Linked DNA regions of Homo sapiens: all the other regions are linked to region 1. Evidence: promoter capture Hi-C in 16 types of primary human blood cells and fetal thymus (Javierre and others, 2016). All regions are on one chromosome and are shown on one strand. The core of a region is centred on a gene start or on the middle of the fragment in contact, and the rest is flanking DNA. Distances in the headings are between cores, read along the strand shown.

Region 1 (3,644 bases), core at 285-2,784:
GTTCTCTGCTTGTCAGAACAGGACAACCACCACCACCATCAAAAAAACTGGGAAATAGACTTTCCTTATGACACTTAGAATTCCTGCAAACACGGGTTAGTTATTTTACATGAAGCATGTACGTGACTCCTGGTTTCTGAGAAAACATTTTTTTCTCTCTATCCTACAGTGCTAGGCAAAGCACCCCAAAGCCTCTTGATTTTAAACACAGAAAACTCCACTGCCGAAATGTTTGCCCTATCCCAGCGCTAAAGCCTTAGAAGCACCGACGAATCTAGGCCAAGGAGTACAAGATGGCAGTGAGATACCACAATGCAGGCAAGGAAGACGGGATGGGCCCCAATCGGGAAGCACGCGCCACCAGCTCTGGAGAGAACCGTCTGAGGAGACGCGGGGGAGAGTTTGGGTCACAGGAGCAGGAAGGAACTGGCAGGTGTCTGTCACCTTATCATCCCGGACACCATGTTTACATTGTAATTGGCTTCTTTACAGAGAGGGAGGGACCAGGTTCCCAGTGTGAGTGATGTTTAGAGGTTTTCTGAGAAGCACAAGGACTGGACTTTGACAGGAAGCAACGAGGCAAGAGGGAAGCTCGAGAACAGGTTTTGCTGAGGATTCCCCCCAAGAAAAGTGCTCCCCGGGAGGCCGTTCCTGGCACCAAGACTGGCGGAGCCACCACACCCGTTAAAGGGATCCACCTGGACAGCGATCAGGCGTGAGCCCCCCGAGGGGAAGTTGAAGTGGAAGCAGACGTGGGTGGCAAAAGGCTGCATTGGGGGTCTGACCCAGAAGGAAACCTGATCAGGAGGGGGGAGAGGCTGAACGGAGGAAGGGGCCGGCAGAGTGGGTAGTTGAGTAGGATGAGACTTCTTTGGAGGCGAGGCTAACTACATTAAACTCTGGGAAGGGAGGGCTTCCGTCGGACCCTGGGAGAAAGGCAGGTCTGGAGAGGAAAGACTGGCTTGGGGGGCCTGCGCGTCCGGCTCTGGAAGGCAACTCCTACTGGGGGCGGCGCGCAGCCGGCCTGGCGGGCGAGCCTCGTGCGGCCCGGGGGTGCGGCCGGCCCGCGCGAGCTCAACAGGAGCTCACCTGGGATGCGTGCGGCCCTGTGGGAGGAAACTTCCTGGGTAGGTGAAAGCTGCCCCGCGGGAGCCGGCCCGGCACCGGCAGAGCGCGGCCGGGTCACAGTCCACTCGGCAGCGGCGCGGAGGGCGGCGAGGGCCGCGCGGGGCGGGGCAGGAGGCGCCCGACGACCCTGGGCGAGGTCGCGGCGGCCGCAGGGGGGCTCCGGCTCCGGAGGGCGCCCTCCCGCAGTCGCACCCGCTTTCCCTCACACACACCGGCCGCCCGGCCCACAAGCCAAGAAGCTGCCTGCTTGGCCCACAAGCCAAGAAGTCGGCGAAGCTGAGGGCGGTGGGGGAGGGGGCACCGGCCGGCCAAGCCCGGCGGACGGGCGTGTGGCGTTACCTGTGTCAGAGAGAGCTGGGCCGCCGCAGCCATGGTGTTTCCATCATGCAAGGGAGGGGAAGGAAGACGGGCTGACTGGGGCTCGGGGCGGGGAGGAGGCGGAGGGAGCGGCCGCAGGCGAGGCCGGGGCGGGCGGGCGGGCGTCTCCCCTAACTTCCACAACTTCCCTCCCCACGCCCGCCCCGCCCCGCCTGGCCCCGCCCGCCTGCCCGCCCGCCGGAGCCGGCCGCGGCGCCGCCCAAACCCTGGCGCCGGAGTCTCGGCCACCGGACCAGAGCCTGCCCCCGGGGCCGCCTTGGAAAACCCGGCGCGGACATAAAATTAAAGCGGACGGGCTGCGGAGGCGACTGCAGATTGACCTGTGAACTTCAGACAGGCCACCTACCTACGCTGAGCTCCTGCTTCTGAAAAATGGGGGAAATTGTAACTAGAGGCCCAGTTACTTACAAAGACTAAATGAGATAATGATAGAAAATAATAATGGCACTTTATATATGCCAGGCTCTGTACTAGACTCTTATTTTTTGAATTGTATGAATGAAGGAACTGAAACACAAATAAGTGTCTTACTAAGGTCATACAGCTAATTATATAGCTGAATTAGAATCCAAGTCTAACTGTAAATATTTAACCATCTGCTAGTATATTGGAAAAGAAGACATTAAGTCATTCCCTCCCACAGCCAAAATCCATTTGGAAAGGGGAAGCAAAAATGTATTTGCCTGGTGCCTGTCACATTTAGATTGTTTAACAAGGGAACGCTGGTGCCTGTAGCACTCCTAGCTTCTCCCATCATCCACTTAGCAAACTCCTCCTTCTTTCTCAGGACATAATTCAAGTTTCACCTCCTTTGCAAAGTATCTTTTTCTCTTCCTTATGTCAGAGTTACACACTCTCCTTTATAACCTTTCTTCTCTACCTTGTGAAGTCATCACCCTAATGACAGTTTACACCTATCTATCCCTCTAGATTAAGAGCTCCTCAATGGCAAGAACTGTTTTCAATATATTTCTATATCGTCAGACCCTAGCATTACAGTGCATGCTCAGTAAAGGCCTTCGTTCCTGCCTATATTAAACATAACACATCCTACACCTTCTGATGCTGCCAACCTTCAGTTGGAATACCCAGTTACTTGAAATTCATCTTCAAAGTCTCAGAGTATATACCACCTACTTCAAGAAGCCTTCTAGGAACTCCACACCCCACCTCTAAGTTGTTCTGATGTGACCGTTTTTATACTCTGCCTTATCTGTAAGCGTTAGTTGAGGGTTTGTCTCCACCTCACTGCACTGTAAAATCCTTGAGGACAAGGGGCTGACTCACTGCTTTATCTCCCTCATAGTTTAGCCTACCACAGAGGCCTCAATAAATGTATTTGCCCGAATTGGTCTTAATTTCTTAGTCACGATGGCTTCCCATTACAACAAACCACAACTCTATCAGGCCTACACCCATTACCATTATCATAGCAGTCCCCGTGGTAGGAGGGACAACTGAACAAGACCCAGGATGGAGTTAGCCCCACCTAAGTTTTTAGACTATTGCCTCCACAAGCAAACCATTCCAGAAATTTCCCAAGGAACTCCTAATTCTACTCAGACTCCTTCTGGCAAAGGCCAGCTAACAAGAGCAAGCCATATAGGTCTGGTGAGTAACCACTTATTCAAGAGCATCTTCCTTGGCTTCTTTTTTGCTGCTAATCTCTTTAACTGAAGAGAGAATAAGAGATACTGTTTTACATTACTTCACTTTGGTACACTTATCAGCCATAACCACAACCGGTGTTTCTACCGGTGTTTTCTACTTTATATTAGCACATTTGAGCTTCACAACTCTAAAAGGAAGTAATCGTCATACTCACTTTACAAATGAGGTAATGCAGGGTCACAGAGGCTAAGTGATTTGCCCAGGGTTATACAACTGATAGACAAAGCAGCATAGTATAGTGAAATAAATAGGACTCAGACATTAGGAATATCCAGGTTCCATTCCTGGCTCTCCCATTCACTAGTTGTATGCCCTTAGGGTTGTTGTGAGGATGAATGAGATGACATATACAAAAGTGCCTAAACTTGTAGCTACACAAATTATGAAATCTGAAAATCATGGAGCAAATCGCTTTGGGGAGTATAATTTCACTTGCTATTCAAGGGGACTCCTCCAAACCATATGAG
Region 2 (3,934 bases), core at 1,237-3,736, 220 kb after region 1:
TTAATGGGGGTAAAACATTCAGTTACGTGTATGTGTAAAGTATAAATAGTGTTTAATGTCCCAACTGAAATCATTAAGAATTGATTTTGCTGACATTTGTTAGCTTTTAAGTTCCTTCTGAAAAAAGTAGTGTTATTTAACTTAAGTATTAGAAAGGTAGTAGGAAGTACCGACATACAGTTTTGAGGCAGTTTGATATTCTTCTACAAGTCTAGTTATATTATTTTAGAAATTCCCCTTAAATTGGCCCAGATGTGTATGTTTCTCTTTCTCTCTCTATTAAACTGGATACATAGATTCTGGATGATATAGAAGTATGTGTTATTCTTCTTGACTTTATGTATCTACTTTAGATTTTGCTTCTTTTCTTTCTCTCTTTCCCTCTCTCCTTCCCTCCTTCCCTCCCTCCCTTCCTTCCATCCTTCCTTCTCCCTCTCTCTCCCTTCCTTCTTTCCTTCCTTCCTCCTTTCCTTTCCTTCCCTTTTTTCTTTACTTCCTCTTCCCCTTGCCCTTCCCTTCCCTCTCTCCCCACTCCCTCCCCCAACCTCTCTTTCTCTCTCTTTCTTTCTTTTTTTTTTGAGGGTCTTACCCTGTGCCCAGGCTAGAGTAGCTTTATTAATAAAGTGTTTTTGAAAAACAGAGACTTTTTTTTTTTAGCATATTCACCACAGAAGTGGTTTTTCTTTACATAGGTTTCTAAATTTTATGGTTAGATTGAAGTTTAATTTCTATTGAGATTCTTCTAATTTAATTTCTTGTTACATCACAGACCATTTTGTCTTTATTTCTCTATAATTGTTGTGTATAATTTAAACTTTAAATGAATTCATACAGGAATCATCTAATTAGAGCTGTGGCTCACATCAGTGTAATAAACCAAAGAGCAGCAACCTCTTTGGTCCTGAGTGCCAATAATGCGACATAATCCCTTCAGTTACTACTGAAGGACCTGGACAAAAGAGAAAGAAAGACAACATGGAGAAAAGGCTTGAGGGAGTAGAGAATAGGAGAAAGAGAACAGAAAGGTAAGAGAAATCTCGGGAGAGGAGGTCGGGGGAAGACCGATGTTGTGGCATCAACAATTTCCAGTCACTGTAGCCAGCGCCATGTGTGTTCATTTAACACTGAGCTGGCCCTGATGGGTATAGTGATGAATGAATGGCATAGTTCCTGCCCTTGTGGAGTTTTAATCCTTCAGAGAAGTCACTCAAATATTCAATTATGATAAAATGTGATAAATGTTAGAGCAAGTACAGAATACTAGAATGTGTATCTACTTGACTCCCAGCTTACTTGTTCTCAAAAGCTACTGTAAGAAGTATGAAGTCACACTGTCTGAAAGAATTTGCCCTATTCTCAGTTCTTTTCAAAGACAGACCACCCTCAATATGGTAAAGGACTATATTCTTAGTCCTGTTTAAAACTCGGCCGGGCGCATTGGCCCACACCTTGTAATCTCAGCACTTTTGGGGACACTGAGGTGGGAGGATTGCTTGAGCTCAGGAGTTTTTATTTTATTGCGGAGACAGGGTCTTGCAACATAGCAAGACCCTGTCTCCACAAAAAAAGTAAAATAAAAAATTATCTGGGCTTGGTGGCACATGCCTATAGTCCCAGCTACTTGGGAGGCTGAGGTGGGAGGATTCCCTGAGCTCAGGAGGTTGAGTCTGCAGTGAGCCCTGATTGTACCACTGCACTCCAGCCTGGGTGACAGAGCAAGACCCTGTCTCAAAAAATAAATAAAAATAAATCTCCATTAAAAAGGATTAATATGAATAAGTGTTGTGGCTTAGTGTTCTAAATGTTGAATGGAAAGAGAAACAGTTAACACTTCAGGAGAATTTTAATGAAATATTCTACATTAGGAAGTAGTGGGTTTCTCATCTCATGAGATACTTAAGACAAGACTAGATGACTTTCAAAGATGTTATGAAAAGAACTTCTGTGAATGGGAGGTTGAATTAGGTGACTGCTGTAAGTCACAATATAAAGTCATACTTGTGCTTTCTTCTAGAGTATTAGTTTTACTAGATTTGAGAAAACACTTGTTAACTACTTGTTCATGTTATCGATGAATTTTACATGATATTTTATTGGTTGCAGATGGGGCAACTATATACATAAATTTTCCTTTTAAATACATGAAAAATTTTTGCATTACTATGCAAGGGTGATTGGGCCAGTTCTGGGACTGTCATTATAAACCTCCTGTTACACATTACCTAAAGAAAAATGGATTGATGAGTAGATCTTTGGCTTGGACCTTGTGAAGTGTGAAGTTTATTCTAGAGTTAAAAGAAGGTTATGGAAGACTATCTAGAGGCAAGTGTAAGAAGAGAGTCAAGGTGAGGTTTATATGATTCTACAAACATCAAAAAGTTGTTTCTGAAGAATTGATTTAGGTAAGGTTTAGATAGCAGTAATTTAAATCTGTTTCCATTCAGTCACTGAACAATTTTTAATCTAATCGGTAATTTGTTTAAAAAGGATGTTTTAGTTAGATTTTTACAATGTTAATTCTAAATGGATTCAGAAGAGTGAAAATACTTAAAGATCACTTTTCCCCTCTCATTTAGATGCTTTTTTTATTCATTTATGAATATGCCATTAACCTTTTAAAATATTTACTAAAAACAATGTATTTAGCTGATTTTAACTGGGTCTTGATAGTTAATTATTGATAATCATGTTACATTGCTGTGTGAAACAAAACCAAAAAACAAGCCAAACAGTCCTGATTTTTCTGTGGCACAGTAACATGGAAATAAGTTGCTCATTTCTTTCATAGTACAGTACTCTAATATCTATGAAATATGATGTACTTATCCATTTCTATGTCTTTTGTCACCAAACTGTATATTTTAAATGTCTCTAACAGGAACTTCTTTGGGTTATCTTTAAAAATGAAGAAGTTTAAACACAGTTTTATAAATATATCTGGATTTTGTATACATTGTTTATTAAGATTTTTTTTTTCAACTTTTGTTTTTGTACATGTCATCTCATTGGGAAGGGGCTTTGTAATACTCATTGTCAAACAGTTTCTTGATATGTATGTAAAATAGACATTTATCGCCTTTGAATTTGAAAAAGAAAACAAATTATGAGATAAGTTGATTTTTCCCATGGTCTTAATAGGACTTAGATTTTTAATAAAATTCTATTTTTTCTTTGGTTCCAAATTTTTGAATTTTAGTTTGGGAAGAGCAACAAAAGTACTATAATAGTAGTAATTGATAGTGTCATTAGTTGTTGTCTTTAGTAGAGGTAGTAGCTGCTGTACTAATAATAGGAGGAGGAGGATGCCCGTATTTGGCTGGCAAGAAAACCCAGATTTGGACAGCCACAATATTGTGTTAGTGAATGCACTAGAATTAGAAACCAGATTTGCCAGCCCATTACTGTTTCCATAATACCATACCATCTTAATTTGATGTTTTGAGATAATGGTTGTAAAAGTGCTTTAATGATAAAGTATACAAAGATCAGGTGTTGCTGTAATATAAAATAAACTTTGGCTTCAGTTTACTAAAATGAGAATGTGAAAATAATCAGCATGCTTTGGGCGAAGGCAGGGAGGAGATGACAAGTGAAAGTCAAGTGTGAGATGGGTATGTTGATCAAGTATATTTTACCCATTTAGTGCAGAATTTTGTGGTTGGGTTGGGATTTTTACAGTAGCAGTTCCTAACCCTCAGTCCCCTGCTTAACAGTATGATGACTGGGCATGAAAATGTGGCAGTCAGAGAAGATTAAGAACTCAAAAGTTTCTTTTGGCTAAAGTTAAAACATAAGAATCCCATGCTCTTGGAGCTTAAACTCTTTACGTATGCAAAAAGTAGGACATGCAAATGCTGCACTTTTAGACCGAGAAATAAGTAGGCCTTCTAAATAAATAAACATCTATACCACGTCTAAGTGTAGTGTTCATGCC
Region 3 (3,555 bases), core at 1,005-3,504, 250 kb after region 1:
GTTTTATTTATTTTTAAGTTTTTAAAATTTTTATTTTTGAGACAGGGTCTCACTCTGTCATTCAGGCTGGAGTGCAGTGGTACGATCAGGGCTCACTGTAGTTTTGACCTCCCAGGCCTCAGGCTCCCAAGTAGCTGGGACCACAGGCACACACACCACACTTGGCTGATTTTTAATTTTTGTAGAGAGGAGTCTCCCTATGTTGCTCAGGCTGGTCTCAAACTCTTGGGCTCAAGCAGTCTTCCTGCCTCAGCCTCCCAGTGTGCTGGGATTATACAAGCATGAGGCACCATGCCTGGAATAATTTAAATAAAATAAAATATTACAGAGTTTTGTTTGTTTGTTACCTTAACATTTATTTGGTGATCTATGTTGACTTTTTGAAAAATTTACTCCAGCTAGACTTGCATACTTTCTTATTATGAAGCTGACACAGAAGTGCACAGAATAAAAACTGCAAGTCCTCTTTACTCTCCCCCCAGTAATTTGCATACATGTATGTGCATATACACTTATGTCGTGTATTTTTATTGTTTTTGTTTAAACCTAACTTAGGTTATGTGTTTCTGTGACTTGCGTTTTTCCTTTAACAAAGAACACTTAGAGCACTTTCCATGTTTGTAAAATTAGGTCTACAGCATTCTTTTTACAGCTGCCTGGGCAGGTATTGCTTGTTTTTTCCACTGATGGAAGCAATACTTCAGTGATATCCTTGTACAGCACCTTTGGCATATGTATATTTTTTTAGAAAACATTTATCAGTCTTTCACCTTTTTGCCAGTTTTATAGTTAGAAAAAAGATACTTCATTTTAATTTGCATTTTCTTTTTGTTTGTTTAAACGTTTTGTTTTTTGTTTTTGAGATGGAGTCTCACTCTGTTGCCCAGGCTGGAGTCCAGTGGCACTGTCTCGACTCACTGCACCCTCCACTTCCTGGGTTGAGGTGATTCTCCTGCCTCAGCCTCCTGAGTAGCTGGGATTAAAGATGTGCGCCACCACGCCCCACAAATTTTTGTATTTTTAGTAGAGACGGCATTTCACTATGTTGGCCAGGCTGGTCTCGAGCTTCTGACCTCAGGTGATCTGTCCACCTCCACCTCCCAAAGTGCTGGGATTACAGGTGTGAGCCACCGCGCCCAGCCTGCATTTTCTTAATTCGTTTAGGCTTAGGGTCTTTATTTTTTCTCTGTTTTACAGGGATACTATCAGTGTTAGATACTAGATTTATCTTGTTTTAAAATTAATTAAATGTATGTTGAATAACTTGTAGAACCAAACTCAAGGAAGCATCTAGCACTTTTCACACTGTTAAACCTGGAAACCAAAACCAAAACCACTCTTGAAGAAGTGGGAGATCAGCCCCTTTTGTTCATCCTCAGATTTTTTTCCCGGGTAGGATTTTTCCTGTGTAATGATGAATAATTACCCTGTGATTTAAAAAATTCGAATTAGTAAAAGTACTGATGCTATTACTTTGATCTTTACTATTTAACAGCATGGGCAGTTGCCTTTGAATTTTGAAAGAAAAAAAATAGCTCTCTTACTTGAAGCTCTTGGGAAAAGGCTGATAAGCAATTTGAATAATGAAATTGAAATATTTTGGCTGACTTCTGTATTTCCTGAGCTGTGTCACCTCTTCTTCATTTAAAAAATAGTACCTGTTTGTTGTTGTTCGTATTTTTATGTTGGAATTTTGAAACAACCAAAATTCCAAAATTTTTCTGTTTGGAAATACGTAAAACTAGCAACAGACTTTGAGAAAGTGAGAAGCTCTTCTTATGTATATTAATTTTTGTAAAAATTACTTCCAGAAGATAATCTTCTGAAAACTATTTCAGTTGAAGGTATTTCAAAAATCTAACACTTTAGAGTAGATTTAAAGAAAAATTTAAAATTAAATTCCTGTGATTTATATCTTATTTGATTTTTCATCCTAACTTCATTTTCTCCACTTTTCTTTCCCTTACTTCTCTTGTTAATACAAAAAAGAAATAAAGGAATAAGATAAAATGTTTGCTCTCCTAAGTAAATCTCAGATCTTTTGTTTGCAGTTCCCACTCAAACTTTTCTTCTTAGATACAGTTTCACTTGTGTGATCACCTGGAATATTTGCATGCTACTTAATCATTTGCAATTCTTGATCAATTTTTTTTTTATTCCAATAAGAAAAAGCTGCTTTTCTCTCTTACTTTTTCTGTTGGGTAATAAAAAGAATATGAAGTTATTTACTAATAAGGTGAGCTACCTTTGGAATTTCCAAAATAAGCATTACCTTTTAGGGGTTAAACTTTTTGTGTTATCTTTTTAAAATACCTTTGTGAATATGATGACTAAATGTGGCAAACTGATGTGCTTTTTTTCACAACTATTGAACCATACATATAGGAATGGGCAAAAAATCCGTAAGTGACTCTGGATTCTTTTTTTTTTTTTTTTGAGACAAGGTCTCACTCTGTTTACCCAGGCTGTAATGCAATGGCACAAACACAACTCACTGCAGCCTCGACCTCCTCAGATTAAGTGATCCTGCCCCAGCCTGTCGTGTAGCTGAGACCACAGGCACATGCCACCATGCCCAGCTAATTTATTTATCTATTTTTTTAAGAGATGGGGCTCTCACTTTGTTGCACAGGCTGGTCTTGAACTCCTGGCCTCAAGCAGTCCTCCCAACTGGTCCTCCCAAAGTGCTGGAATTACAGGCATGAGCCATTGTGCCTAGCCTGGATTCATTTTTATTGCTGTCTTCAATTTCTTCCAGAACTGTGGCCCTGGCTTTCAGATTGCCATCAGTGTCTTAATAAACTTTAGTCTTCACCAGACATCTGTAGATTAGTATAAATTGCCTGACTGACAGCCCTTAAATGCTCAGTAAGTTAAATTGATCTTAATACTCCATTTGTCGATTGGTTTGATACTTTTTTGTTCTTGCTTTACTAGTAGATAAGGTACCAGATGATCATCTCAGAGATTAGATGGCAGGCTTCTTTGTCTGGGTCTTCATTAATTTCCATTTCTTTAGTTAGACTATTTAGGAATAGAAAAATGTTCTTCTGAATCTTTTCATTTTCTGCATTCTTCTCATCGTAGTCCTCTATTTTTATCTCCACCTCTGAGCCCCTGACTTAGGTGGAAAAGAGGAGAGGAATTTGGATGGTGTGTGTATTTTCCATGTGATTGCCAAAAAATATTGAATGATAGGAATGTGATATCCTGCAATATTTTAATGTTTATGTGGTCTTAATATTCTTTTCATTTTGCATTCCCAGTGGCTCACTGCTGCATTTTTAGGTATCTGGATCTGCAGTGTAAAATAAGAGTCCCGGCATCCCATTGTAATCATATCTGTTGTTGGACTTGCAACTCCACAACTCATATAATCAAAAGGGCCCCCTTCCTAGTATTAATGATAATCTTTAATTATAGAATGAGGACATAGCTTTTTGTTTCATTTATTTAAAAGGCTGTGTCCTCATTTTATATCATGATTTGCCATTTTCTGTGTGGAGTTTAAATGTTGATTTTCTTTATAAATACTGTAGCGACTTTTACAAACTT
Region 4 (3,688 bases), core at 340-2,839, 180 kb after region 1:
AAATGACAAACTCACTTCATTCATTTTCGGGGAAATGTTTGCCAAACACCCGAGAGTGAATAATTTAGTTTGTCATTTGTTCTTTGTAGTAAAAATGATATTCTGTTAACAAAGTGCCCATTAGTTCCCAACTCAGACATTTGCACAAATGCTTTTCCTTGAGATAACCGTTATACTTTAGTGTGTAGCAGAAGTACTTTATATGTGCTTCCCATTTGTCACAGAGACTATGTATTAAATATTTACTCGAGGGTCAAAATTTGATGATGTTTACTGCTTTTCTTCAAGGGCATTCTTAAAAGAAATAGTAATGTTTTATTTTTCCCTGCAAGCATGTAGTGGTAAAGAATTTAGTGACTACCAGTTCTGATTGGTGCCATTGCCTTGATTTGTGCTCGTGTGCCAGCAGTTTTACCACCATTGTTCTTACAGCATCATTGCAAACATGACAAACGCAGATTATGTTTCAGTATTAGTACGAAAATAGTTTTGCACTGAGGACCCCAATCTCGTTGGATTCCCAGTGTTATTACATACCTTATTTCCCCTGATTTTCACAGTGGAACCATGAGGTAGTTGGTGATATTAACCCCTTTTGGACCCAAGTTTCCTGACCAGAGTTTCTGTCGTTCATTCTTTCTGTTTGCTATAATATCTCCAAACTGTGGAAAAGTTTATATTGTTATTCCTTAAGAAGAACTTTGTTCAGCGAAAACAGAATGGGATGGGGTGAGTTTATTTAACGGAACTAGGGGTGTCTGAAGCCTAGAGATTCCATTCTCATTGCTGCTTTTTAGGTGCTATGTCGTTGTGAAATACTAAACTTTTCTGTTTCCTTATTCTAGAAAATAAGGATAATAATAATACCTATCTCATGTAGTTGTTGTGAAAATTTAGTTAATACATGTTATATGCTTAGAACCGTGCTGACACAAATTAAATGCTCAATAGGTTTAGCTTTTATTATTTACAGTTAGAGATGGGGCTCAGGCATTCCAGCTGAGGGAACAACTTGAGCAAAAGCAGAGAATCGTGTCATGTGAACAGTACATACAATCTAACAGAATGTAGTGGTTCATGGAAGAGTATGTGGGAAAGTAAAACCGGGAAGGTAGATTTGGACGCTGATTATTGCTGGACTAGAGCTCTAAACTGTTGATCCAATTTGTGTCCCTAATGCCTAAGACAATGACTGGTACATGGTGTATGTATTTATATATTGCCTGAGCATTGGAATATTTGAATAAATTTAAGGAAGGAGAGAGCAGCTGCTCTCACCATGAGCAACATAGGTGGAGAAAGTGACATTGTAGCGTAGCCCAGAAGAGTGAATAGAATTCTAGTAAGCAAAGATATTAGAGGTGTGAGACAAAGCAGCAAATTTAAGAAAATGAGAATGTTTGATGTTTGCTTGTTCTACTTGCCAGAATTTCACAAAATCCCTTGCCAACAAAATTTCACAAAGGCCCTGACTCAGTGACTGAGCACAGTCCTCTAAAAACAACAACAACAACAACAACAAAAAGCCCTAAAGACAATAAATAAGATAGAACACAGTTTCCCACATCTCCAGCTTAAATCACTGCATTTTTAGAAAAGGCAAGTTCAGTGATTCTAGTCGTTGCCTCTTTCTGCACGTAAGATAATGTCCAACAAGATTAGTGATTATGCCTCCGTAATATATAACCAGATATGCCCTTACACCCAAACTTTAATGAGATTTTGCTCTACTATAACTTACAAGCACATACAAAACTGCCACCACCAATTTATAAACTGTGTCTAAAACCCTACTTTGAAACAGTCTAACAAAAATTCTCTAAAAGACTCTCCTAGGTAACAGTCCTCAGTAAGACTTCTAAATAAAACTAACTTTAATTCTTTAAAAGCTCCCCTGTCCCGTTTTTTTTTATTTTTTATTTTTATCTTTTTTGCTTAGTTGACAGAGGCTGATAGAATGGGTGAAGATAGTTGGGATATAGGCTCATGCCTATAATCCCAGCTGCTTGGGAGGCTTAGGCAGGAGGATCCCTTGAGGCCAAGAGTTCAAGACCAGCTGAGCAACATAGCAAGACCCAGCCCCACACCCATCTCTAAAAGAATAAAAAATTAGCTGGGCGTAGTGGCTTGTGCCTGTGGTCCTAACTACTTGGGAGATTGAAGCAGGAGGATCGCCTGAGCTGAGGAATTTGAGGTTGTAATAAGCTATGATCATGCCACTGCTCTCCAGCCTGGGCAACAGAGTGAGACCGTATTTCTCAAAAAAAGAAAAAAAAAAGAAAGAAAAAAGAAAAAAGCGTGAAGATAATACCTCACCAAACGATATACTACCCACCCAAGTTATTGTACTTTTCAGGAGACTTAATTACTTGAGATCATGAATTGTTTTATCCTTGCTCATATACCAAACATAGTACCCCGTGCATATTGGGGCTCAGTAGCTACCTGAGCAGTGTCTCAGCAGTTAATCTTGTAAATGTGGTTTTTGTGTAATGTTTTTATTTCACAATAACTTTCAGAGAAAAGGAGGCCTTCCTGATTATAGGGGTTACTTTTTTTTTTTTTTTTTTTTTTTACTTAAATTGCAGAACAGGCAAATAACCACTTTATTTTGTATACAGGCAGTAATATATTCACAGTTGTTTGTGTCTTAAAGGAGAAGATATGACTTTAGGAGGACAGATTCCTAAGCAGTGGATCAGGAATGGTAAGGTATAGGAGTTTTAGAAAGTTGTCCTAAAAGCTACTTCTTGTAGTTTAGGTTGTGTGAGTTACGCTGGAAGAGTGAAATCTTTTGAATAACTTCATATTCTTATTCAAATGTGTATAATATAGAAAATGTGATTAGATATGTAATAAATGAGCAAAGATGATAAAATCCTGAAAATGTATTCTACATACTAGATAAATACTGTTTTCCTCTGTGCACCTTATATTGTTTCCATATAAACCAGGCATTATTGAGAATTAGGAGTTACCAGTAATCTCCTCTCTACTAATTTTCTCTGGCAAATTGTTCTCTGGATTAGTAGAACTAGTTTTCTCTGTTGGATTGATAGAACATGTGATAATAATAACATATTGGTATTTTCATGTATGTCAGGCATCGTGGTAAATATTGTACAGATTATCTCATTTAAATCTCACAACCTTATAAGGCCGAGGTACTGTTACCATCCCCATAGGTAATATTATCATCCTTAGATTATAGATGAGAAAAGTAAAGCTTAGAGAATTTAAGTATCTTGCCCAAGGTCAGAATGAATAAGGTCAAAGCTAGGTATCAGACGAGGATTTGGACCCAAGAGTCAGCCCTCTTGGCCTTTACACTGTGCAGCTTAAGAGATACTAAAAAGCAACAGCTTTGTGGGACATTGGGGTGGCTTAGAGTAGTGTTTTCTGAACTGGATTGCAGTCCATTAATGGATTATAAAGGTCTATTTAGTGGGCCCAAATCAGCATTTTAAAAAAATGAATTACAACAGACAGAAAAATATCAATGTGTATGGCATATAATAAGAGCAAGCACTCTTTTATGAAACGAATGTTCCAGTTTATATGTATATGTGTATGTACACATATGTACACATATGTGTGCATATGTATGTATGAACTGGCTGAAGTTATCAAATGTACTTCTTATTGTGGGTCGCAGTCAAACAAAATTTGGAGCCCACTGGCTTAGAGG
Region 5 (3,700 bases), core at 583-3,082, 210 kb before region 1:
CAGAAAGCCCTCCCTGATCTGCTGCCTTCAACCTGGGGTTGGTACTCAGGTTCTTGCCCTCAGTAAAGTCTTTGGGTGCTTGAGTTCTCTGGTTCCTCCTCAAGGTCTGATGCCCAGTAGGGCTTCCCTCAGGCATCTGCTGGATGAAGTGGTAGCACCAGAAAATGGTCCTTGGGGGAAGGACTTACTCAAAGTCTTAAAGTGAGGCAGTATCTAGGGAGAGAGGGACCAGCCCCTGACACCTGTCAGGCTCAGAGAATGTGTGATCCTGGGCCACTGATGGAGCTGCCCTTCACACCCACACCCACCCAGAGCCTCTGCACCCTGGGAGGGCCAGGCAGGGATCACTAGCCCCATTTGTCCAGAGAGAAGACTGAGGCCCAGGGAGGTCTGGGCATTGTCCAGGGCCATACAATGAGAGGGGCTGAGCCAGGATGGGCTCCTAGGCCCTGTGGCCTGTCAGCCCCACCCTGTGCAGCCCAGCCCCAGTTCTGGGGCTGAGCAGGTCAGGGGTGCTAGGAGGCAGGTGGTTACCTTGTTTCCTGAAAACCCCACAAACTCCAACAGCCTCAGGATCCTAGTAGGAAGCATGGACAGTGTCTGCAAGAAAGGAGGCAATCAAGCCTGTGAAGGTACCCAGAGTGGGCAGGGGCCACCCCCACTGTCCCAAGTCTAGCTCTTTAACAGGCTTTACCTGGAGGGGAGAGGGCCACCCCTCTAACTTTGAAAGCCTCTAGCCAATGTTTTCCAAAGCTCGGGCAGTAGATGGCAGCTAAGATATCAGGGGTCCATGGGCAGGTGCCAGGAAGCCTAGCCAGGAAACCCCTGGCCACCTAGGTTCCTGAGGCTAAATCTTCCCTGGGAAGCTCCTCCTCCCTTGATCAGGCAGTTTTCCCAGCCTTCCTGCTCCCTCTGCCTGGAAGCCCCTCCCCAGCTGGGAAACTCCTAGGGATCCTTCAGGAGCCAGCACAGATGCTCACCCCCTCCCGTAGGAAACCTTCCCCCACTCCATGCAGGAACAAGACTTAGTTCTCTGTCCCCTCTAAGTCATCAGCTGGTTTCAGGACTGTCTCCTTCCCTGACACTGGTAAATGTTTAACCAGCAGCTCTCCAGGGCAGAGAAAGCCCTGATTTATTGTGTGTGCCAAGGTCGGGTGCTGTGAAGGTTCCACCATGGTGGATTTCAAGCTACTGGCCTGACTTGGGAAGAAATGCACCGATGGACTCTGGAGCTGGCTCCAGCGCCCACACCACCCCCACCCCAGCTGTGAGCCCCTGAAGGCTGGCCACATGTCTGGTCACCTCTGGATCCTGGTGCCCAGCACACAGCCAGGTGCAGGGGCACTTGGCAGTGACCACACATGAGTCAGGGACAGAAGGGGAGACTGAGCTCAAGCCAGGTGCTGTGGAAATGGAGGAGGAGCACTCACCAGGTTGAAGGCCCCTACACCAAGCTTCACTCCTCCTTCAAAGTGCGGGTGGTTCTCACCCTTGCAGTATTGTGAGGACTGAACAAGGCTGTCCAGCTCCCTGCAGAGAGATGCCAAGTCCTGTTTCAGCCACTGCTGGGGGTGGGGGGTAGGGGCTGGGACCCCTTCCAGCTGGGCCTCAGGTAAACTCCCTGGTGGTGGATTCATACAGTTCTGGTAATCCTGAGAGCTGGTATTTGAGGAATTTCGAACCCCATCTCCCACCATGATAACACACTCCTCACCCCCTGAATTTCAGCCGTATGGGCCCTGGCACACTCAGCCATGGGCAGCTTCTGGACATTTGTTCGTATTCCACATCCTATCTAAAAGAGGTTTTCTCAGCCTCCGCGCTACTGACATTTTGGGCTGGATAATTCTTTGTTGGTGGGGGTGGCAGGGGAGCTGTTCTGTGCATTGTAGGATGTTTAGCAGCATCCATGGCCCCTGAGCACCAGATGCCAGTAGCATCGTCTCCCTAGCTGGACATCCAGAATGTCTCCAGACACTGCCAAAAGTCTCACAGGGGGAAGTCACCCCTAGCTGAAAACCACTGGGCTAACCAAAACACCTCCTCCTTCAGGAAGTCTTCCTGGAGTCTCCTGGTTGGAATTCAACTCTATTTCTCCTGGTTACCAACTGCACAGAGCCCCTAGCCCAGCCACCTGGGGCAGGACAGAGGCTTTTAATGATGTGTCTGCCTCCTTCCTGGGCTGACAGCATTTTGAAGGCTTTCAATTAGCAAGCTTGAAGCTTCTCTGTGCCAGGCACTGGAAGACAGCAGGGACCAAAACCACCAAGCCATTGCCCCCACAGCATTCTCACTTTAAGGGACAGACCCCCCCCCCCCGCCCCCCGATTGAGTCACTATGAGGGTGATGACAGGCTCCAAGGAGAAGAGTCCTTGGGCCTGACTTAGTCTGGGGATAGGAAAGGCTTCCCTGAGGAGGTGACATTTGAGCTGAAATCTGGTACAGAAAGCCCGGTGCAGAAAGTGTTTCTGACAGAGAGAACAGCACGTCCAAAGGCCCTGAGGTCGGAACCACCTTGGCATATTTGAAGAACTGGGGGAAGGCCCAATGACCTAAGGCAGAGTGAAGTGGGAGATGTGGCAAGAAGGGCCAGGGTGACCTCCCAGGAAGAACTTGGCAATAACCCAGGACTTCTTTTAAGAGCAAGAGGAGCCTTGGGAGTTGGCAAGGGGTGGCCTGACAAGGTGTGTGCTTTGGTGACCTCGTTCTGGCAGCTGGTAGGGAGGCTGACGGGGCCAGAGCACTTGTCTGGTTTTTCTAGAAAAATTCTAGCATAGGCCTCCAAGGTAACATGATGTCCACATGCTATATGGTACATTATACCCTAGCAATACCTTGTAACAAGCTCACAATATCCCTGCAGGGAAGCAGCCACATTAAATGGGGAGATAAAGATGATAAATAGGCCAGGCGTGGTGGCTCACGCCTGTAATCCCAGCACTTTGGGAGGCCGAGGCAGGCAGATCACCTGAGGTCAGGAGTTCGAGACCAGCCTGGCCAATGTGGTGAAACCCCATCTCTACTAAAAATACAAAAAATTAGCCAGGTGGGGTGGCGTATGTCTGTGGTCCCAGCCACTCGGGAGGCTGAGGCAGAAGAATCGCTTGAATCTGGGAGGCAGAGGTTGCAATGAGCTGAGACTATGCCACTGCACTCCAGCCTGGGCGACAGAGCAAGACTCTGTCTCAAAAAAAAAAAAAAAAAAAAGACTTTTTTACTTTTCCTCTTTTTTTCATTTTGTTTTTACTGTGATAAATATACATATCATGAAATTTAACATCTTAACCAATTTTAAGTGTACAATTCAGTGGTATTAACTACATTTACATTATTATGCAACTATCCCCAATATCCATCGCCATGAATTCTTTTCCTCCTGTAAAAGTAAAACTTTATTCTCTGTCTTTTGGTCTACAGCTTCATATCTATCCTTAGCCCCCTTTGCCATGTTATTCCTCTATCTCTCCTGCCTGATGGAAAAAGCATGAAGTAAATTATCTGCCTTCTCTGTGGTGCATGTGGACTACTGAGCAGGTGTAGTAAGATTGCTGTCACTGTAAATTTATCATCACCAGCTTCAGCTGGGCTTCTCCGTACTGCCAGTCACTCTTGTGCTGTTTCCATAGTGATTTCTCCATAATCCTCTTCATATTTCAAACCTTATCTACTCTCTATAAACCTCTTGCCGCCACCCCCCCT
Region 6 (3,654 bases), core at 161-2,660, 150 kb after region 1:
TCCTCAGGAAGGATTTAAATGATAAGAGTTATGCACATTTTAAAAATGGATTCATAGTTCTGAAACTGTCAGAATAATTAGTTTATTTTCTATTGTAGTAGTTATGGGAGTTTTAGCATGAGATCTGGATTTTGCAAAGAACTTGGTAAGACTGTATTTTTTTTTCGTTAATGAGAGCTATTTCACATTCATAGGTCCTTGATCATAAAATCCCTGCAAATTTGATACAAAGTTATCAGTGTCTGAGAGATCTTAAATTCTTGATTAGAATTGAAAGCAAATTTTAGCTATATATGTGAACATATCTTTAAATGTGCTGAAGTTTTTATTGAATACACCAGTTTTTTTTTAAGCAAATGAAATATCAGTTGATGCATTATAAAACAAATTCTACTGTCAACTATTAAAGGGAAAGCTAGAGTTTGTTCAGATACATTCATTTATTCATTCAACATCTATTTTAGACATTATTCTGGGGATACAGTGGTATACAAAACAGATAAAATTCCTTGCCCCTTGAGTCATCCATTCCAGGAAAGGAGAAAGGTAATCAACACGATCAACATGATAAGTTAGTAAAATATAAGTAAATGAGAGTGATAAGTCCTGGGGAGAAAAAAATAAAATACGAAAGGAGAAAATGAAATAGAGGTGAGGTTGCAGGGAGAGGGGAAGTGTTGAAATTTTAAATAGGGTAGCTAGGGAAAGACTCACTGAGATGGTGCCTTTTTAGTGAAGAGCTGAAGAAAGTCAGGGAACAAAGTATATGGCTATGTTGGTGGGGGAGGTGGGGTGAATACATCATTTCTTTGCCTGGAATGACGTACCCACCCTGCCTTCCTCCCCAACACAGTCATATACTTTGTTTTGTTTTTCTTTTTGTAGTTTATACTCATATATTTGAAGAACAGCTAGAGGTCAGCTCTGGCTGGAGTGCAGATAACCATGGGTGGAGAGTAATGGAGAATGAAATCTGAGAGGACACAGGAAGTCCAACCATATGAGGCCTTTATAAGGGCATTGAATTTGACTGAGATAAAAGGCCATTAGAAGGTTTTGAGCAGAGGAGTGACATGGTGTGATTTATGTTTTAACAGGATGACTCTGGCCACTGTGTTGGGAGTAAAATTCAGAGGGGCAAGGACAGAAGTAGGGAAACTATTTCTGCAGTAAGAGGCTGTTGTAAACCAGAAGAGAGGTGGTAGTGGCTCCCACATGGTAGCAGTGGAGATGGGGAGATAGTGAGAAGTGGTCGAATTGTGTGCATGTTTAATCACCTTTATTGAGGTGTAATTAACATACAATAAAATGTACACAATATACAGTTAGGCATTTTAATCAGTTTATTTACTCATGACTACCACCACAATCAAGATATAGATTCCATCACTCCAAAAGATTCCTTTATGCTCCTGTCAGTCAGTCCCCAGCCCCAGCCCCCGGCCCCAGGCAACTACTTTTCTGCTTTCTATCATTGTAGAATAGATGTTTTGTTAGGAGAATTTCACATAAATGGAATCATACCATATGTACTCTCTTTTCTGGCTTTATTTTAGCTCAGCATAATGTTTTTAAGATTCATCTATGTTGTTGTATATATTAATAGTTCCTTTTATATTGCTAAGTAATACTTCATTGTATGACAGTATATTTATTCTGAAGGTTGAGCTGTAACATATGACAGAAAGACAAGTCTAGGTTGAGTAACAAGAATGGAGTTGCCATTAACTGAAGTGGAAGATTGCAGGAGGAACTAGTTTTGGGAGGGTGAGGGAAATGTGGGCATCAGAGCTTAGCTTTGGACATGTTTACTAAACAAGTTTTAAATGTCCACCAAATAGGCAAATGGAGATGTCAAGTAGGCAGTTGGAGTTCAGTGGAAAAGTTTGGTCTGCAGAAATAGAGTTGGGAGTCATTGGCACATAGATGGTATTGAAAGCCACAAGAATTTGGGAATAAATGTTGAGAGAAAAGAGGTCCAACTACAGAGCCCTGGGGCACTCAAACATTTATTGAGAGGGCGCAAGATGAGGTAAAACCAGCAAAAGAGATTGAGAAGAAGCAACCAAAAAGGAGGAGGAAAACCAAATGAATGTGGTACTTTGGAAGCCACAAGAAAAGGTGTTTCTAGGAGGAGAGAAGGATCAGCAACTATGTCAAATGCTACTGACAGATCAAATAAGATGAGGATTGAGAAATGATTACAGGATTTAATACTGAGAAGTTTATTGGTAACCTTGAGAAGAGTGATTTTAAGATAGGAGTGGAGACAGTGCATTCAAGTTTTGATGTAAAGGGAAGATGAGAAATATAGCAGTAACCGGAAGGGGAAATGGGAGCAAGGGAGCTTTTGTTTTGTTTTTGTAGGATAAGAGAAATAATAGCATTTCTATGTTGTTGGCAGTGATTCAGTAAACAGGGAAGAATTGATGATGCAAGAGAGAAAGGAGAGAGTTGCTGGATCAGTGTCCTGGAGAAAGCAAGAGAGAATGGGATCTAACACACAGGTGGGAGCAGTGTCTTTGGCTTGGAGCATGGGCAGTTTATTCATAGTGTTATAACATAGCTGTGGTTGTTGATGAGACCTTAAATAGATTAAAGCAGTGATAATAGGGAGGAAAATGGACTAGATTTGAGATTTTAAAAAATCTATAGGAACTGGGGCACAGTGGTATGCACCTGTAGTCCTAGCTATTCAGGAGGCTGAGGCCAGAGGACCACTTGAGCCCAGGAGTTTAAGACTGTAGTGTTCTATGATCACACCTGGTGCATAGCCACTGCACTCCAGCCTGGGCAATATAGTGATGCCCTGTCTCTAAAAAAGTTTTTTTTTTTTTTTTAATCTGTAGGAACTGGTAATTGCTCAGAAATGGGAGGTGAGAGAATTTGGGTACTAAGGGTGATGCTCTTGGCTTGGCTTACTGTTGGATGTTGTCAACTCCTTCCTTCCTTCCTTCCTTCCTCTCCCTCTCTCTTTCTTTCCTTTGTTTTCTTCTTCTTCTTTTTTTTTTTTTTTCAGGGCCTTGCTCTGTCACCCAGGCTGGAGTGTAGTGGCATGATCATGGCTCACTGCAGCCTCGACTTGCTGGACTCAAGTGATCCTCCCACCTTAGCCTCCCAGGTAGCTGGAACTACTAAAAAAATTAGCCTGCACCACCATGGCTGACTAATTTTTTTTTTAATAAAAAATTTTTATTGTAATAGTTATTTTTTGAGTTAAAATTTATATGTGTGTATGTTTAATCAACTTTATTGAGGTATAACTCACTATGTTGCCAGGGCTGGTCTTGAATTCCTGGGCCCAAGCAATCCTCCTGCCTTAGCCTCCCAAATTACTGGGATTTCAGGTGTTAGCCATTGTGCCTCACTGTCAGCATCTGAAATAGAGAATATAGGAGAGCAGAGGTAGTGGTGAGGGACCTCTTATGTTTAAGGTGTCTGTGGGACACATAGATGATGGTAATTGGATCTGAGTCTGGGCTGGAAATGGAGATTTGTGATCGTCAGCATACTGCTGGTAGGTAGAACTAGAAGTTGAAAATATGAATGCCTAACGGCTAGGCAGATAAGTACAGTCAAGTGCTGCATAAGGACATTTAGGTCAACGATGGACCACATATATGATGGTGGTTCTATAAGATTATAATACCATAT
Region 7 (3,608 bases), core at 654-3,153, 200 kb after region 1:
TCTTCATCTTCCTCTATCACTTTACTTCTGAACTTTTATTCTCTCATTTTGATCTGACCCCTACTTCTCTGTTTTTCCTGGCCATTTAGTACTTTCTTGTTTTGCTCATCCCATTTCCCAGTGGAGACCTTCTGGTCTGCTGCTTTATCACTGGTTTTGTTAGAAGACATACAAATGGCAAGGAGGTATATGAAAAGGTGCCTAACATCATTGATCATCAGAGAAATGCAGACCAAAACTACAATGAGATATCATTTCACCCCAGTTAAAATGGCTTTTTTTTTTTTTTTCCAAAAGACAGGCAATAACAAAGTACTGGTGAGGATGTGGAGTAAAGGGAACCCACATACACTATTAGTAGGAATGTAAATTAGTACAGCCACTGTGGAGAACAGTTTGAAGGTTCCTCAAAAAACTAAAAATAGAGCTACCATATAATCCAGCAATCCCACTGCTAGGTATATATCCAAAAGAAAGGCAATCAATATACGGAAGAGATACCTGCACACCCAGGTTTATTGCAGCACTATTCACAATAGCCAAGATTTGGAAGCAACCCAGGTGTCCAACAGATGAATGGATAAAGAAAACATGGTATATAAACACAATGGAATACTATTCAGCTGTGAAAAAGAATGAAATCCTGTCATTTGCAATCCTGTCTTGAATAGAACTGGAGGTCATGATGTTAAGTGAAATAAGACAGGCACAAACTTCACATGTTCTCACTTATTTGTGGGAGCTAAAAATTAAAACAATCGAACTCATGGAGCTAGAGAATAGAATTATGGTTACCAGAGGCTGGAAGGGTGGTTGGGCGTATAAGTGTAGGGGGAGTGGGGATGGTTAATGGGTACAAAAAAATGAGAACGAATAAGATCTACTTGATAACACAACAGGGTGACTATAGTCAACAGTAATTATACATTTAAAAATAACTAGAAGAGTATAATTAGATTGTAACACAAAAGATAAATGCTTGAGGTGATGGATACCTATTTACCCTGATGTGATTATTACTTATTTCATGCCTATATCAAAATATTTATACTCCAAAAATATATATACCTACTATGTACCCACAAAAATTTAAAAATTTATATATTGTTTTTGCTATCACCTTTAGAATTTCTTGTCATTGGATAGTTCGTCTGTATACCATTCTGGTCTTCATTCCCCAGGGCCCCCGTTGTCTGATTTTTCTGCTTCTAGAACTGTTAGAGGTCACAAAAGCAAGATGGTTGTATCTATCACAATTTTTGTCTGACTTTAACTGGGTATCTGTTACGATTTAGTAGTCATCTTACTGACTTCTTGTTGGTTTCCAATTGAATCCTCACAGTAGACTGTTTTCATTGTAATCAGTATCGAATTATAGCCTGTTCCCTTCTTCATAAATGAAGGCTTTCTTCTTCAACAGTTCTTAGTGACTTCACCTGTACTTTATTTCTCTGCTTTGAATATTTCGAAGAAAACATATTCTTGCTCTTTCCCAAGGTTAACACTACATACATTACCTTGACCACAGGATGTTTTCTTGCAGATTGTGACCTAATTCCATCACCCTTCAGCAGCCCCCACCGTTTTCATGGATTCAGCTAAACCTTCTGTAAGATGACTCTTTTTCCCCCTAATCTTTATATCTCTTTTGATATGTAGCTTTAGTCTCACTTTTTTTCCTTTTGGATTTTGCCAGTTAGATGTCTCCCTGGAATTCCACTTCAGCATGGCTAAGACTAAGCTTGTCTTCTCTTTCCTCCCCAAAGCAAATTGTAATTAGGATAGACTGAAGGTGACAGAAGATAACTAAGATCTTCTTCATCCTTTCGGCTCTTATGGAAGCTGAATTCCAGTAGTCATTCTAAATTTGTTGTATGTCAGCTTATGGTATCTTTTCATGTCTTTACATTCAGCCAAAGAGGAAGTTCCTTGAAGGGGAGACCAGAGGGCGTGCTGTGCTTCTTAATCCTCTCTTTCTTAACCAGTAAGAGGCATTCAGTAGATATCTGATGATACTGATTAATAGAGGGGAACTTTTCAGATTCTTTTTTTTTTTTAACCCTAGTAAGCTTTAGTACAAACTAAATGCTGAGAGATTATCAAGTAAGGGATTGATCATCACAAGAAGACTCAGGATGTTACATCCTGTAGGTTTTATAGTTTCCTATATTGTAAAAAATATGAGTTATAGCAGCTTGTCTGGATGTCATACAGGTATAAAAATCAGTTTTATAAACTTGAGTAAATTGGGGCCCATTTTAGAAAAAACTCTTGCAGGCTGTGAATGCCAATATATAAGTAAAGTATTAAGTATAATGTTATTTAATGTGGGCAAACATAAAGCCAGGTGTAAATTTTTTAGGTTTAAAATCTTATAGAACTATACATCCAAAAGAAAATTTCAAGTTAAACATAATACAAAGCAATACAATCTAAATTAACATTAATTTAATGTGATGAATGATATTGCCTTGCTAAAAGTGGGTCACTACTTACAATGTGCAAATGGTACTCATCGTTAGGGTATAGATTCTTTTAAACTATGACATACGTACACTACCATGTGGAACGTGATGATGTGTTCTCTGTTCTAACTACTGGGAAGACTTCCTTGGCATAGCACATGCCATGGGGTCAGTTGGCTTTGACTTCATATAGATATGCCATTTACTTGGTCAGTGTCACTTCTATGACAAGTAGTATGTTGTGCCAGTTTGATTATAAGTACAAATATGGGCAATGAAGTAACTTGGTTTTAAGGTTGTTACTAAGCTGAGTAACAGTGTGTGGCTATACAAATTTTTATAGGCTATCAGGAATGAAAACACAGGAGATTGTTGTAGATTCAAGTATTTTAGATTCAAGTTTGAAGATGCTCATGCAGATGTTTAACTGAGTTGTATAGACCTTTATGTTTCTTTCTTTTTCTCTTTTTTTTTTTTTGAGACAGAGTCTTGCTCTGTCACCCAAGCTGGAGTGCAATGGTGTGATCTCGGCTTACTGCAACCTCCGCCTCCCAGGTTCAAGCAATTCTCCTGCCTCAGCCTCCCAAGTAGCTGGGATTACAGATGTGCACCACGACGCCCAGCTGATTTTTTGTATTTTAGTAGAGGCGGGGTCTCACCATGTTGTCAAGATGGTCTCAATCTCCTGACCTTGTGATCCACCCACCTCTGCCTCCCAAAGTGCTGTGATTACAGGCGTGAGCCACCGCGCCTGACTGACCTTTATGTTTCTTAACTTTATGCTATACATCAGTTGATATTTCAAAAATTTAAATGGTTTCTATGATTATTCTTTGGGCTAAGAAATTGGGCATTAATTGTCCTCATATGTATGGTTTTTGTGGCTACTTCATGTAGATTTTATTTTTGGTGGTTATCAAATTGGAATTTTTTTTTTTTTTTTTTTTTTTGAGACGGAGTCTCATTCTGTTTCCCAGGTTGGAGTACAGTGGTGCAATCTCAGCTCACTGCAGCCTCGACCTCCCAGGCTCAAGCAGTCCTCTCACCTCAGCCTTCTAAGTAGCTGGGACTACAGGCACGCACCACCACACCTGGCTAGTTTTTTGTGTTTTTAGTAGAGATGGGGTTTTACCCTGTTGGCCA

The links. The method cuts DNA at HindIII sites, captures the fragments that hold promoters and counts their contacts. A CHiCAGO score of 5 or more calls a contact.
Region 2: a fragment that was not itself captured here is called in contact with the fragment with the promoter of EPS15 in region 1 in 2 of 17 cell types (neutrophils and monocytes); the score reaches 7.4 in neutrophils.
Region 3: a fragment that was not itself captured here is called in contact with the fragment with the promoter of EPS15 in region 1 in 9 of 17 cell types (monocytes, neutrophils, naive B cells and 6 more); the score reaches 7.7 in monocytes.
Region 4: a fragment that was not itself captured here is called in contact with the fragment with the promoter of EPS15 in region 1 in 1 of 17 cell types (neutrophils); the score reaches 7.1 in neutrophils.
Region 5: a fragment that was not itself captured here is called in contact with the fragment with the promoter of EPS15 in region 1 in 1 of 17 cell types (endothelial precursors); the score reaches 5.7 in endothelial precursors.
Region 6: a contact is called between a fragment that was not itself captured here and the fragment with the promoter of EPS15 in region 1, in 1 of 17 cell types (neutrophils). The highest score is 5.5, in neutrophils.
Region 7: a contact is called between a fragment that was not itself captured here and the fragment with the promoter of EPS15 in region 1, in 2 of 17 cell types (neutrophils and M1 macrophages). The highest score is 6.5, in neutrophils.

Annotation. Positions count from the first base shown.
Region 1 is chr1:51,517,732-51,521,375 of GRCh38, forward strand. It overlaps EPS15 (epidermal growth factor receptor pathway substrate 15), which reads right to left and starts at 1,535. Exons shown (of 25, transcript NM_001981.3): 1 at 1,468-1,535. The coding sequence starts at 1,500. EPS15-AS1 (EPS15 antisense RNA 1) reads left to right here and starts at 541. Exons shown (of 5, transcript NR_183651.1): 1 at 541-715. It also overlaps a transcript of OSBPL9 not described here. RefSeq lists an enhancer at 790-1,718 and silencers at 949-1,418, 1,569-1,758. The HindIII fragment of the contact is 8,390 bases long and covers 1-3,644 here.
Region 2 is chr1:51,741,006-51,744,939 of GRCh38, forward strand. All of the region lies in intron 4 of OSBPL9 (oxysterol binding protein like 9), which reads left to right. Among named protein-coding and RNA genes, the nearest start is that of MIR761, 93 kb to the right of the region's middle. The HindIII fragment of the contact is 6,462 bases long and covers 1-3,934 here.
Region 3 is chr1:51,762,164-51,765,718 of GRCh38, forward strand. The region is part of intron 11 of OSBPL9 (oxysterol binding protein like 9); the gene reads left to right. Among named protein-coding and RNA genes, the nearest start is that of MIR761, 72 kb to the right of the region's middle. The HindIII fragment of the contact is 4,533 bases long and covers 1-3,555 here.
Region 4 is chr1:51,694,902-51,698,589 of GRCh38, forward strand. All of the region lies in intron 3 of OSBPL9 (oxysterol binding protein like 9), which reads left to right. Among named protein-coding and RNA genes, the nearest start is that of OSBPL9, 80 kb to the left of the region's middle. The HindIII fragment of the contact is 3,269 bases long and covers 1-3,224 here.
Region 5 is chr1:51,304,547-51,308,246 of GRCh38, forward strand. TTC39A (tetratricopeptide repeat domain 39A) reads right to left here. Exons shown (of 18, transcript NM_001297663.2): 7 at 1,431-1,530; 8 at 535-600. Among named protein-coding and RNA genes, the nearest start is that of TTC39A-AS1, 23 kb to the right of the region's middle. The HindIII fragment of the contact is 761 bases long and covers 1,453-2,213 here.
Region 6 is chr1:51,671,065-51,674,718 of GRCh38, forward strand. All of the region lies in intron 3 of OSBPL9 (oxysterol binding protein like 9), which reads left to right. Among named protein-coding and RNA genes, the nearest start is that of OSBPL9, 56 kb to the left of the region's middle. The HindIII fragment of the contact is 5,089 bases long and covers 1-3,654 here.
Region 7 is chr1:51,717,401-51,721,008 of GRCh38, forward strand. All of the region lies in intron 4 of OSBPL9 (oxysterol binding protein like 9), which reads left to right. Among named protein-coding and RNA genes, the nearest start is that of OSBPL9, 100 kb to the left of the region's middle. The HindIII fragment of the contact is 328 bases long and covers 1,740-2,067 here.